Regions from separate parts of the Homo sapiens genome. Here region 1 is linked to region 2. Evidence: promoter capture Hi-C in human tissues and cell types (Jung and others, 2019). All regions are on one chromosome and are shown on one strand. The core of a region is centred on a gene start or on the middle of the fragment in contact, and the rest is flanking DNA. Distances in the headings are between cores, read along the strand shown.

The links. Contacts are between HindIII fragments. The study calls those that stand out against the background at their distance.
Region 1: a fragment that was not itself captured here is called in contact with the fragment with the promoter of EIF5AL1 in region 2 in 2 of the 25 tissues and cell types used here (H1 embryonic stem cells and aorta).

Annotation. Positions count from the first base shown.
Region 1 is chr10:80,122,265-80,129,308 of GRCh38, reverse strand. It overlaps the pseudogene RPL22P18. Among named protein-coding and RNA genes, the nearest start is that of PLAC9, 6.9 kb to the left of the region's middle. The HindIII fragment of the contact is 7,775 bases long and covers 1-6,783 here.
Region 2 is chr10:79,507,477-79,515,137 of GRCh38, reverse strand. It overlaps EIF5AL1 (eukaryotic translation initiation factor 5A like 1), which reads right to left and starts at 2,605. Exons shown (of 1, transcript NM_001099692.2): 1 at 1-2,605. The coding sequence starts at 2,488. The coding sequence ends at 2,024. LOC729815 (a long non-coding RNA gene) reads left to right here and starts at 4,156. Exons shown (of 3, transcript NR_136624.1): 1 at 4,156-4,331; 2 at 4,548-4,609; 3 at 7,353-7,661. The HindIII fragment of the contact is 1,814 bases long and covers 2,124-3,937 here.

The sequences.
Region 1 (7,044 bases), core at 1,647-4,146, 610 kb before region 2:
TATGTGGTTGCAAGGAAGGAATCAAACTTAAATTTTTCCCTAAATGGGTATCTAAATGTCCTAATGCTCTTTATTGCCTAGTCCATCCTTTTACCACTACTTTGAACATAAAGTAGTTGGCTAGCTACTCATTTCCGAGGGGAGTTCTGGGAAAATCTCTCTACATCATGTCTGTCACAAGGTCAAGGAAACAAAAATGCAAAACAGACATATAATTTCAATAAATACTGAAACCATATTTGATGAAATTAAACAGGCCTCCCTAACTTAAAAACAGTAATAACAACAAACTTAGGATAAAAATAAAGGAAATAATGGGACATTTCCTTAACAAGATAACTACCTTTAATTTTTATATTTATAGTTTTTCAAATTAAAAAAATAATAAAAATAGAGACGAGGGGTCTTGCTGTGTTGCCCAGGCTGGTCTTGAGCACCTGGGCTCAAGTAATCCTCCCGCCTCAGCTTCCCAAAGTGCTGGGATTACAGGAATGAGCCACCATGCCCCGCCAACTACTTTTATCTTAAATAGTTCATCTGTACATAACAGAGAAAGGAGAAATGTATTCTTTATTAAATCAGGAATGAGGTAAAGATGCCATTATTGGCCAGGCATGGTGGCTCATGCCTATAATCCCAGCACTTTGGGAGGCCAAGGTGGGAGGATCACTTGAGCCCAGGAGTTTGAAACCAACCTTGGGAACACAGCATGATCCCATCTCTACTAAAAATTAAAAAAAACACACACACATTAGCGGGGCGTTGTGGCACACACCTATTACTGGGGAGGCTGAAGCAGGAAGATCGCTTAAGCCTAGTAGTTTGAGGCTGCAGTGAGCTATAATCACACCACTGCACCCCAGCCTGGGTGACAGAGTGAGACACTGTTCTAAAAAATAAATAAATAATTTAAAAACTTAAAATTAAATTAAAAATTTAAAAAATAAAAAAAGATGCCACTATCAACAAGTGTTTGGCTGGGTGCAGTGGCTCATGCCTGTTAATCCCAGCACTTTGGGAGGCAGAGGCAGGTGGATCACTTGAGGTCAGGAGTTCGAGACCAGCCTGGCCAACATGGAGAAACCCTGTCTCCACTAAAAATACAAAAATTAGCCAGGCGTGGTAGCACACGCCTATAATCCCAGCTACTAGGGAGGCTCAGGCAGGAGAATTGCTTGAACCCAGGGGGCGGAGGTTTCAGTGAGCCGAGATCGTGCCACTGCACTCCAGCCTGGGCGACAGAGTGAGAATTTGTCTCAAAAAAAAAAAAAAAATTAAGATAAGTGTTTGGAAATCAATTTATTTCTGTATACCAACAGAAACTGGCCCAAACATGTAAAGGGAAACTCCTGGGCAAAATGATAGTATGGAGCCAGTGGACCCAGTTGACAAACCTCCTCCTTCCAATATTCTTGAAAGTGACCAGTGAAATTAAAGATAGGGGAGACCGGCATCAGTGGCAGGAACTAGAGAAATATGCCAACCATATACCAGGCCTCAAAGCAAGGTGGGTAGCCAGCTGGATCTAGTCATACCTCTTATTATTTATTATTATTCTATTATTTGCTAAACTTCTCTGAACCTGGTATTGTGCTAAGGCTGTATATGCATTACCCTATTTAATCCTTGCATCAGTAAACCTATCAAGTAGATATCCTTATCCCCATTTAAAAAAATAAGATCTATTAAGTATATCTGATTCAAGAGTAGAGGGTGGCAGATCCCAGTTTGGAAGCTAGGTGGATCCGATTCCAAAATTCATGGTCCTCTGCATGATCAGGCCTCTTGACTCTGAAGTCCCAGGAAAGGCACTAAATAGAGAATCTGAAGAGTGGAGGTGAGAAAGGGATGAATGGGATATGGGGGGCGCAGAGTGGCAAGCCCTGTGCAGTTAGGGGAGAACGCTCATAACCACCTGCATGAATGAAGTGCCCTAATGTGCAGACGTTTCTCTTTCACTTAATGCTCCCATGACCCTGGCAGATACCGTCACAATCTGCGTGGACTGTGAGGCTACCTGCCAGGGTCATGGGAGCATACAGAATGTAAGGCTTGGAGAAGTTAGGAGGTGGGCCCAGGGCACACAGAGACTAGTTAGGGATTTGCCTCCCAGGCACCTGTACTGCCTCCACAGGCAATGCTACAGGATGTGCTCAGGTCCTCCCAGCCTGGCTGGGCCGGGGCACAAGTGGTGGGAAATCTGGCAGGGGCTTGCTCTCCCAATCCATACCCAAAGGCAAAGGGCCAAAGGAAACAGGAAATAGGGGCTGGTCATCTCTTTGGGGAGAGAGATGGGGTGAGAGGACAGCCCAATTAAAAGAGCGTCAGTGGCTGGGAGGGCCTGAGCTGTACAAAGCCTCCTTGTCTTCTTCCTTTGGCACAAGAGAAGATTTCCAGAGGTACCAGAAAGACCCACGCCGGGAGAGCTCTCAGTGAGCACTGGGCAAACCTAGCCCATTCTGCACAGATGAAGAGGGGCTACTAACCCAAGGCACAGAAGTTATAGCCAGAGAAAGTGAGCCAGTGAAGTGTGAATGTGGATGTCTCTCGGGGGAAGGAAAAGGAGGGGGCGACTTGATGGGTTGAGATTTGTTTTTTTGAAGTTGGAAGTAGTGGCTCACTCCTGTAATCCTAGCACTTTAGGAGGCTGAGGCAGGAGGGTGGCTTGAGTTCAGGAGTTCAAGACCAGCCTGGACAACATAGCCATACCCTGTCTCTACAAAAAAAATTTAAAAATTAGCCGGGTGTGGTGGCACACACTTGTAGTCCCAGCTATTCAGGGGGCTGATGTGGAAGGATGGCAGGAGCTTGGGAAGTCGAGGCGGCAGTAAACTATGATTACATTACTGCATATGCCAGCCTGGGTGACAGAGTGAGACCCATCTCAAAAAAAGAAAAAAATAAGAAGTTTTTTGTTTCTTTTTCTTTTTTTTTTTTTTGTTCCCAAGTTTTATTCAAGAACTCATACAAAATATTCCAGATAAATGAAATTTAATCCTCATCTTCCTCGTCCTGATTAGTTTAGAAATAATGTAATCCATAACTCTCTTTGCTGTTAGCAGCTACGAAAACCAATCACATAGATTATTCTTCTTTGAATATTTTTTGGTGTAATATTTCAAATACCTTTTGGAAAAAGTCACCTCAGATATCATGGCGATCTTTCTCTTGCTCCTTTCGATGGTCACCACCCCTCCGCCAAGTTTCCCAGCTTTTCAGTTCACTTTGATCCTCTCTTGCAGAAACTGCTCAAAATTGGCAGCGTCTATGATTCCATATTCTACGGGGTGGGTGCAATCAAGACTGAACTTCAGAACCTGCTTCTTTTTTTTGCCCCTCTTCACCACAAGCTTTTTCCCGGGAGCCATGGTGGCAGTGGAGGCAGAAAGAGAACTGTTTCTTTTTAAATTGTTATTAATTTTATAAAATTTCAGTAGCTTTGGGGGTACAAGTTATATTTGGTTGCATGAATGAATTGTATAATGGTGAATTCTGAGATTTTAGTGCGTGCACCACCCAAGTAGTGTTCATCGTACCCAACATGTCGTATTTTATTCCACACTCCCCACCCATCCTCCCCGTTCTGAGTTTCCAGAGTCCATTATATCACTCTGTATGTCTCTGTGTCCTCATAGCTTATCTCTCACTTATAAGTGAGAACATATGGTATTTGGTTTTCCATTCCTGAGTTACGTCACTTAAAATAATGGTCTCCAACTCCATCCAAGTTGCTTCAAAAGACATTATTTCTGCTGGGTGCAGTGGCTCACGCCTGTATTCCCAGCACTTTGGGAGGCCGAAGCAGGCGGATCATGAGGTCAGGAGATCGAGACCGTCCTGGCTAACACGGTGAAACCCTGTCTCTACTAAAAAAAAAAAAAAAAAAAAAAAAAAAATTAGCCAGGCATGGTTGCCGGCATCTGTAGTCCCAGCTACTCGGGAGGCTGAGGCAGGAGAATGGCGTGAACCCGGGAGGCAGAGTTTGCAGTGAGCCGAGATCGCGCCACTGCACTCCAGCCTGGGTGACAGAGCGAGACTTCATCTCAAAAAAAAAAAACAAAAAAGACATTATTTCGTTCCTTTTTATGACTGAGTAGTAGTCCATAGTGCATATATACCACATTTTCTTTATCCATTCATTGATCAATGGGCACTTAAGGTGGTTCTGTACCTTGGGAATTATGAATTGTGCTGCAATAGGCATAACCCCTTTATTTTGCCCCCTTTCTTACATGTGGCCCTGAATCCTCCCAGGTAGGAGAAGATGTAGGAAGATAGGAAGATCCGCTTGGTACAGGGAGAAGCAAAGTGTAGAATGAGGGTAGAGGTTTAATATTAACAGTTATGGCCGGGTGTGGTGGCTCACGCCTATAATCCCAGCACTTCAGGAGGTGAGGTGGGCGGATCACCTGAAATCAGGAGTTTGAGACCAGCCTGGCCAACATGGTGAAACCCTGTCTCTACTAAAAAAAAAAGAAAAAAAAAAAGAAAGAAAGAAAGAAAAAAAAAAAAAAAAAATTAGCCAGGGGTGGTGGCACATGCCTGTAATCCCAGCTACTTGGGAGGCTGAGGCACGAGAATTGCTTAAACCCGGGAAGCAGAGGTTGCAGTGAGCTGAGATTGCATCACTGCATTCCAGCCTGTATGACAGAGCAAGACTGTCTCAAAATAATAATAATAATAATAATAATAATAATAATAATGATATTGGCCAGGCACAGTGGCTTATCTTGTAATCCTCGCACTTTGGAAGGCCGAGGTGGGTGGATCACTCTAGGTCAGGAGTTCGAGACCAGCCTGGTCAACATGGTGAAACCCCATCTCTACCAAAAATATTCTTAAAAAATTAGCTGGATGTGGTGGTGTGCACCTGTAATCCCAGCTACAGGAAGACTGAGGCAGGAGAATCGCTTGAACATGGGAGGCAGAGGTTGCAGTGAGCCGAGATCGTGCCACTGCACTCCAGTCTGGGTGCAGAGCCAGACTCTGTCTCAATAATAATAATAATCATAATATTAACAGTTATAATAAATAGTTATATTCCTAACAGCCAACATTCATGATTTCGAATTCATCGTCTAACCCAGTGTGAAGTACTACATAGTCTGGTTTTTTTAATTTGTAAAAATTTTGTTATAGATTTATTTTCTTCTGATTAAAATTTTTTTAATTTTTATGGGTACATAGTAGATATATATTTATGGGGCACATGAGATGTTTTGATGCAGGCATACAATGTGTAATAATTACATCAAGGTAAATGGGGTATCTATCACCTCAAGCATTTATCATTTTCTGTGTTACAAACATTCCAATTGTATGTACTCTTTCAGTTACTTTTAAATGAACATAGAAAAGGTACAGTAGGCTGAGCATGGTGGCTCACACCTGTAATCCCAGCACCTTGGGAGGCTGAGGCGGGTGGATCACGAGGTCAGGAGATCGAGACCATCCTGGCTAACACGGTGAAACCCCGTCTCTACTAAAAAATATACAAAAAATTAGCTGGGCGTGGTGGCATGCACCTGTAGTCCCAGCTACTCGGGAGGCTGAGGCAGGACAATGGCGTGAACCTGGGAGGCAGAGCTTGCAGTGAGCAGAGACTGCGCGCCACTGCGCTCCAGCCTGGGCAACAGAGTGAGACTCTGTCTCCAAAAAAAAAAAAAAAGAAAAAAGAAAGGGTACAGTAAAAATAAAAAAGAAAAGTTATTTAGTGGCTGGGATTACAGGTGTGAGCCACTGTGCCTGGCCAACATGGATAAGTTATTTAGTGGCAATTTCTGAGATTTTGGTGCACCTGTCACCTGAGCAGTGTATACTGTATTCAATGTGTAGTCTTCTATCCCTCACCCCCTCCCACACTCTCTTCCCCCAGTCCCCAAGTCCATTATATCACTCTTATGCATTGCGTCCTCATAGCTTAGTTCCCACTTACAAATGAGAACATATGATTTTTGGTTTTTCATTCCTGGGTTACTTCACTTAGAATAATGGTCTCCACCTCCATCCACGCTGCTGCAAATGCCATTATTTTATTCCTTTTTATGGCTGAGTAGTATTCCATGGCTACATAGTCTATTTTTCAGTTAATCTTGGCTGCTACCCTATGTGATGGGTTCTGTGATTATCCCAGAGCTTAGCAATAGCAGTTTTCTAACCAGTGTCTTTTGAAGTGATAAATCCATGTTTAGAAGAGGAGAAAACTGGCCTAAATGGAGGGTCCAGCAAAAGAACTCAGCCACCCATAGTGCCTGGTATCCACTTACTCGGTTTTGAGATGTTTTTGCAGCAGATTCACATTGCTAAGTGTCAATTCAGTTCATTGTGAAATCCATGACTATTTCCTGAGAATCTGTCAAGCTATGATTCCTGAATTCCCTGTGGGCTCAGCGGGTAGGAGTGGGTTGGCATTTCCCTCAAGCTCTTTGAGAATTTTCTCTGCAATGCTCTCTAGGGAGATGATCTTATTTTGGCTCCTTGAGGTGAGAGTTGAAGTAAAATATAAACTGTCTGAAGACATTGCTTGGCTGACTGTTCAGAGCATTTCTGAGTTAGTATCTCTTAGTAAAGGAGGCAGAGGAATTGAGTTCAAATCGTGACTTTGTCCTTATTGGTGGTGTAGCCTCAGGCAGTTCACCTCCTCTCCCTGAGCCTCATCAACAAAGATGGAGTAATAATAACATCTATGGTCACAACACAATGTAAATTCTCTTGCTCACCTGCCTCTAACCTGCTTTCCTGGGCCTGTCACTATGTTTTCTTTGCTGTATGTACTTGTAGGTTATAAATCTCCTGAGGGCAGAAAGGGTTGTGAGTAATGCCAGCTAGGCCTGCAGTGGTCCTGGAGGAGGATCAAGGTTTCCAGGAGAGATGACTGGTGACCAAGGAGGAGCTGGCAGCTAACTCTGCTTCCTGAAGGAGGTGTAAAGTAAAGGCCTCACAAAGGGGTCTTTGAACATGAGTAGGAGTTTTCTAAGCAGTGCATCCTGCATGCCATGGAGTTTAACAAAGGTGGGTGGGTGACAGGTGAGTGGGCAGTAAATC
Region 2 (7,661 bases), core at 1,356-3,855:
AAATAGAAGGATTTTATCCTTTGCAGGAATTAAAATGGACCTAAAATACTTCTTTACATCATGGAGATCTACAGAAGCTAAAGTGCAAGCCAAAGTCCAAAAGGTGATGATGAAGGTCAACAGTCATTGCGAAATCTCTGGGCAAAGAAAGACTGCCGAGGAAGAGTAAGATGTTCACTGACACAAACACTGTTGTATGAACCATGTGCCAACCAAAGTAGACAACTGCAATGTCCCCGAGAATATTTTCCACAATATTTGTGGCAAATTCAGTGGGTGCAAAACTGAGCTTGTCCTTCCTGCTTGATTAATCTTCGTGTTTCCTTTCCCTTCCTACATTCTTGATTGTAATGTTTTAGGGGCAAGCGGAGGTCCAGGTACTGGCATTGTTAAATTCAATGCTTGGGTCACCTCTGGATTCATTTTCACAGTCTTTTAGCTTTTGGTCATATGACATTGTATTTTTCCTGCCACATGACTAGTCTTTTTGGCTAAATGTAAGACACTCGTTAAAAATATTTAGCAATGAATTGAGGCCTACTAGCACGTTATCTTGCTGTAGAAAAGATGGGAGTCTATTTCTGGGGAATGGGCAGGGGTCCTAGCACACCTAGACACCCTCCATACCATCCGCAATTGAGGTTATCAGTGAGGTTCAGTCCCTACAAAAGTCAGGGTGTTTCCTGTCCACCTCTATTCCTGGCGTGTGACTCTTCTGGGTCCCAACCAAAGCCAGTGGACTTCAGTAGGGGTCACCTTCACTAGCAGACCCTCAGTCTACTTGTTTTCCATCTAGTCCTCCACATGGTGCAAAAGCTGCTCTGCTTCTTTGCATCTCAGTTAGTCCCTTCTGAAATTCAGTGAGGAAACTGAGGGAAATGAGCCCCAAATGTGAGGCTGACCCTCGTCCTGGGTTCCTTCTTCTCCATCTTGGCCTCATGTCTCTTTATTGCCATTTTAGCAATTTGGTGCTTTCAGTCATGGGTTTTAGATTCTGCCCCATGTCCCCATTGCTCTCATGGGAGATCAGAAGCTTCACACGCACTCATGTCTACTCCAGAGCAGAATGCTTCCTTAGCTTCCCTCCAGACTCAGGTTTTGTGTTTCTAGTTCCCAAGTTCACAGCAGGAGTAGTGATGTCCTCACTGGCTTCTCATTTGCGTTAAACTGTGAACTCCTTTAGGGTGGGGACAGGACCCTGCTCCCATTGCATCCTCTGCACCTCACAAGACACTCCTTGCTTCAGGCCACTCCAGACAGCGTGTGCTGAAGGGTGCCCTGGGTGGTCAGAAACAAGTGCATGAACTTTCTCTTTGAAGTGTTTTTGTCCCTGTTTCCTAGAGTTCTTGGCATTTTACACGTCTTTCTTTCTTTTTTTTTTTTTTTCATATTAAACTTGTAGTTTTATTCAGGTTTGATTTTAACAAATGTGTCGGGGAGAGAGCCCGCAGGGAAGGGTAAAGCCCATGGGGGCAGGCCCTTCCCAGATGCCTGAGGAGGGGGCAGGTCCCCTCCCCTCTCCTCTTCTTCCCTCCCCATCTAAAGGGGTTTGGGGAGAGACACAGGCAGGCGAGGGGGCTGGTCCCCAGTCTGTTGGGTGGTGCTCAGGGTAAAGGGCTATGGGCAACAGGGGACCAGACCAAGGATGAGTGGGGAGGGCACAAGGACCATTTGCCAGAATCCACCGCTTTCTGATTCCAGATTGAATTTAAAAAAAAAAAAAAGACTAAACCACAAGCAGCACCCACCCCCTTCTCCCCCACCAGGGCTGTAGTGTGAGGGGAGAAGAGGAGGGCAGCTTCACCAAGGCCATGGCTTCGCTCGCTCCTGGCCAAGGGAGCTAGGTGAAGGGCAGGGGCTCCCTGACAGATTGAGGGGGTGGGGAAAACCAAAATAAAACGTCAAATAAATTGTGTAGGAGGAGTCCAACCTAGGACCAGGCCAGAGCCAGGCCAGGCTGGGGGAGGGGGCCTCTGCAGGTTCGGAGGATCACTGCTGCCACCACTGCCACCTTGGGAGCCAGTTATTTTGCCATGGCCTTGATTGCAACAGCTGCCTCCTCTGTCATGGCAGACAGCACCGTGATCAGGATCTCTTCTCCACAGTCGTACTTCTGCTCAATCTCCTTGCCAAGGTCTCCCTCAGGGAGACGAAGGTCCTCTGGTACCTCCCCGCTGTCCTGGAGCAGTGATAGGTACCCATCCTGGATGCCAATCAGCTGGAAGTCATTCCTTTTGATGTTGGGGACATCCATATTATGAGTTGACGGGCAGATATCTTCATATTTCTTCCCAGTAAAGATGTCAATACCAACCAGATGGACCTTGGCGTGGCCGTGCTTGCCAGTCTTCGAAGCAGACATCTCCACGATCTTACATGGCCAGCCTTTGAGCACCACAAAGCCATTCTTACGTAATGCTGAGCACTGCATTGGGAAGGTGGCTGAGGCCCCTGCATCTCCTGTCTCGAAGTCCAAATCATCTGCCATTTTAAGAGGCTTCGATTCCAACTGGCGCAAACGGCACTGACTCGACCCCGTCCGCTCGCCGCGAGCCCAACCGCTGCCTCCGAGCCCGCCGCCGCCGCCGCCGCCGCCGCCTCTACCCAGGCATTTTACACGTCTTTCATATGAAATCAAGTATCAAGTGAGATTTTTAGAATCAGAACCATGAATCAAGTAGTGTGAGGCAACACAGCAAACCCACCTTTTTAGGCCATTTCCTTTTTTCTGCCCTCAGTCTGTGTGAAACAAACCTTGTTAAAGTCTCTGGACACCAGAGGATGGTTTGCAGTTGTCACCTATTTTCAGGACATAACACCCTGACTAAAGAGCCATTGGATCATTTCCAATTCAGTAGATGCACCCAGCACTCAGATTGGCCTTTTCTCTCAACCAGGATCTTTAAAGTCGATGAGAAGAGTTCCAGTCCTGAATCATGGACATGTGCAGTAGTGAACCGCAGGGCTAATGACAGCATGTCCTGGAAGGATCTCTCTGAGGCTGATTGTCTGGGTTCTGGCATCAGCCTCTGATGGAGAATCAGGTTTCCCTGTGGGAGGAGTCAGACGAGGAGTGATCCTCTGCTCCGTCCTTATGGGTTTAGTTGTGATGAGCTGGTGAGGTCTGGTTTTCTACACTGAACTAAAATGAGCTTTCGCTATGTCAGGCAAAAGACTGACCCCAGAAGCACACATAGCGCATCTCATAGAAGCTTTTAATAGTTCATATTTACTAAAGAGTAGGAATACAGAGCGATGAAGATGAGCTGGAAACGACAGGTGACTTGCCAGCAGGCCAGAATGTGCTTTTTCTTTGTCCCATGGAAGGTGTTAATTCTCCCTCCAGTTGTGAGGATCAGTTGGTTCATTTATGGGAAGGTTGTCAGGGGACCTTTGAATCACGGCCTTCAGATGCCGCAAGGAATCCCACACAGGCCAGTGGATCACGTGCATGCATTTCTCTCCCTTCTCGACTCAGGAAGCTGAGAATGAAAGAACGTGAACGAGAAGAAAAGGGGAGGCGGCTGTCAGAGGTGGAAGAAACCATGAAATTGGCTCTAGAAAAAATACCCATCTGCAAGTGGGTTCGGAAACCGACACCAGCCTCTTGGGGAAGCGCTGGTGGAGTGTTTTGTTTTAAATCTTTGTACAATGTTTAGACCCAGTTAACACAGAAATGGAAACAAATGGTCAGAAGCGATACCTAGAGAGAGAGACAATTCACACCAGAGAACACAAGTACCTTAAGATTTACTAGTGTTCAAAACATGTGAAGTAGCCAAACATCTCCTGACTGCAATGCCAGCCAGACTGTGTGGAAACTCGGTTCATACCAGCCGTTCTAGGGGTGATGCGAGTTGTCATCATCCTTAGGAAAGTGTGTTGTTGTAGGATCAACCCATCCTTCAAAAGGACTGTGCCTATTTATAAGCTCAGCTGTTTCTGCCCTGTGAAATATGGCAAGGATATTAATTCCAGGAGAATAGAGCTTTATGATAAAAGATGCCCAATGAAGCATGAATTAGGGACATACTGAAAATGGGTAAGGAAATTGTCAACTCAGAACCCAGCAGGCATTAAGTAAAAGAGGAGGAAGCATTACAGCAACAGTTTTGATCATACTGTACTTTTATAGCCATGTGAAATACATTTTCTATGTATAGATAGATTGTGTAAGGGTACAATTGTGAGGACAACAGGAACATGGCAGATTATTTAAAATCATACTAAAGATGATGCTGTGTCTGATGAAAGTGATTCTAAACCATAGAAAAACGATTCAAGACAGACAAGAGCTGCAGCAGTGGGTAGAGGACTCCTACAGATGAGAGGTAAGGAGCCTTCCTTCCTGCAGTTGCAGGATCCTTAAACGCTCATCAAGATGATGCCACTGCCCCTAGAATCTGTCAACATACATTTTCTCATGTGTTGGCTTTTTCAGATCGCCCCTTCTGCTGCAAGAAAGGCCTCAACAACTGGGTAAGTTTGTTCATTTTTCCCTTGCTTTTCGGCCAAGTCGGGACATGGATGTATTTTTCTCCCCACAGCTCTGTGCTCAAGCCTTGCAGAGGGAGATGGCAGAGAGGAAGGCTGCCTGCAAGCAGCACAGGTAGGTGATTGTGATGGACAAATTTTAAGGATGTTTTTGTTTTAAGATGAAGCTTTGACTGTCTAGTAAAGAAAACAGTGTTTTAATTCTTCTACAAGTCAACTCTTTCACTGTCTTCAAGACAGGAAATGATGGAAAAGCAGGGAGTGCTGGAGAGACACATGAGTCAGGAGGCAGCCCAGGGACAGCTAGGGCTAGAGAACCCTTTCTGGAGAGGTAGGAGCTCTCTGGGAAGGCACCCGCTTAACTTCTGCTCCACAATCCACACCCCTGCTTCTCCTTTCTGGGGTGAGGGCTTGGGTTGGGTTATTGTTATGTTTCCTGGAAACAGTTCCAAGCACTTACTAAAGAGAACAGTTATCCCGCTGGGTGGCAGGACCGTTTTTCTCACGTGCCACAGCTGAATGACTCTTGGCTGGTCCCCTGTGAATAGCGGAGCACAGGCCCCTCCACTGACTGTGGACATCATTCCACCCTGATGTCTTGGTTACTTTTAACTGAGGGGATGAGCCTAGAAGGCAAATGGGTCAGCTCCCCTTCCAACCTTGAGTCAGTGGGAAGGCTTTATTTTTTTTATTATTATTTGAGAAAAGTAACACTAGTAACATTTTAGAATGGGAGCCATAAGTGCTGATGAGAGCAGAAATTTTCTGGCTATGTCTTCATGGATCAATATTTCTTCTTTTCTTAAAGAATCAGAAGACATAGCCAGAAAACAGAGAAGACAAAGGTAAATGCTGGAGTCATTTTCCCTCTGCCTAGTTCAGGACAGTTTTGTCTTTTCCTACAGCGCCCTCTCCTGGCCTGTCCTCTGCTCTCTGGGTTCTGTGGTGCCTTTTCTAACTGGACTTTTTTGAAAGCAAAATCTTCCCCATGAGCTTTCAGGCTTCTCCATTTCCAGCTGGTCATCTTTGGTGGCACCTCCAGAAGCCATAAATGCTTAAGGGCCAAGGGCTGCAGGGCTGTCACTGTTCTGTTTCCAGAAATAACATGAGAGGATGCCATTGAACTCCACTGAGGTAGGTCTTATGGCCCAGTAGACCCTGACTGATCCCTTTTACTCAAGATGGTGTGGGATCCCCTTTCCAAAATATGTGGGGTTTCCTTTTTTTTTTTGCTGTGATTTTCTTTTCTGCTATAAGGTAAGTGATTAACCTTCAGAATATCCGCCGTAATCCCAGAAGTGAAAACTCATTGATCCAACATTAATATGTGCTTTGTGCAATTTTGAATGTTCTTTGGCAAAGTCAATTCCATAATTCATCACAGTCCCATCTCTGTTGTTAACTGTGTTGAGCAAAAACGCCCCCACCCTCACCCAGTGTTGCCCTTGATCTAATATTCTAAGTGTCAGAGGTTCCATATTTTAATAGAAAATGTGCCCTGGCTGTGAGGTAGTGGAGAGTGAACGTCACTCATTACCTACAGGGACAATTCTCAATGAAGGCCTTAAATGATGCTCAATTAAGCTGGTTCTCGTGTGGCCTCTGTGTCTTCGACAGCTGCTGAATCCTCTGATCACACACGATGGGACTTGTACACTTGAAATCAAACATATTTTTAAAACTTCTGTTGTTGAGAATTCCCACCTCATTTTTCCATGGACAAAATTATTCTTTATGTCATAGTGCACTTAAAATTTGGTATTACCTAGAAGTTAAAGAAATGTGATAACCATGCCAAACTGATATCTCTATGTAAGATTATTCCGTCAGAAAACCCTCTCCCAGTTCCCCTGCAGCTCTTCAGGAATCCCCATCTCCCCAGAGCTCTTTGTGCCCATGGATGGCGCTTCCAAAGTAGAGAAGACCGTTTGTCAAGAAGGGAAGCAGAAGGGGGACGAGAGGGTCTTGCAGGCAGAGCTGGAATCGACTTCCACTCTGCTTCTTGCAAGCTGTGTGATGCTAGGTGAAATTTCTCCTTCCTCTGGAGCCTCTATTTTCTTAGATTTGGAGCAGGGTGGTCACACTGACCTTGTAGATTTCTGAGAATCAGAGACAGCACATGAAAAGCCTGGAGGCCATTCTCTTAAGAGTAGCTGTGACTCATGTGTGGACAATGGGCTTTTCATGCTTCTGTTTCTCTCTGTTTATCTGATGCAAGGAACATGCTCCGGTGATGATGGTGAGGGAGGAATTAGGATAGACATAGACACCCCTGTGTCAGAAACATGCTTCTTTATTACTGGGTTATGACTCTGTCTTCCCAGGGACAGGCCCCCAGCCTGCGTACATTTGCAGACAGAGTGGCGTGTGGGGATAGCAGTTTGTCCCCACGACTTTTCTTCACTCCCCTGCTGTTGGCAGGACTCAGTTGAAGGGAGACTTTATGGCATTCATGCTGCCATTTTGAAACCTGGAGGAGGGAAAGGTGCAAGGGACTATCACCCGAGGCATAAGGTGCAGCTTGTGTTGGTTTTGGTGTTTTTGTCCATCATATTCATATATTTCAAAACATTTTCTCCTCCTGACTTGTAGGTCAATGTGGCTGCAGGGAAGCTCATCCTTTCTCAGAATGGCCCTACTTGCCCGATCTCATGGCTGGCCCTTCAGGACCATTGATGGGCTGCCAGCCGCCTCCTCTACCGGGTGTTGTCTGGGAACTCAAACACTCCCTCCATCTGAAGGTTTTCTGGGACCTCAACAAACTCCTCCACTGGAGTGTCCTCTGGGAACTCAAGCACCTCTTGCACTGGAGAGTCCCCTGAAAACTTAACCACCTCCTCCACTCGATTGTTCTCCAGGGCCTCATCCAGCTCCTGCAGCTGTCAGTCCTCTCAGACCTCATCCACCTGCAGCTGTCAGTCCTCTCAGACCTCATCAACCTGCAGCTGTCAGTCCTCTGGGACCTCATCCACCTCCTGCAACTGGCAGTCCTCCCGGATCTCATCTACCTGCAGCTGTCAGTCCTCCGGGACCTCATCCACCTCCTGCAGCTGTCAGTCCTCTGAGACCTCATCCACCTGCAGCTGTCAGTCCTCTGGGACCTCATCCACCTCCTGCAGCTGGCAGTTCTCCCGGACCTCATCTACCTGCCGCTGTCAGTCCTCCAG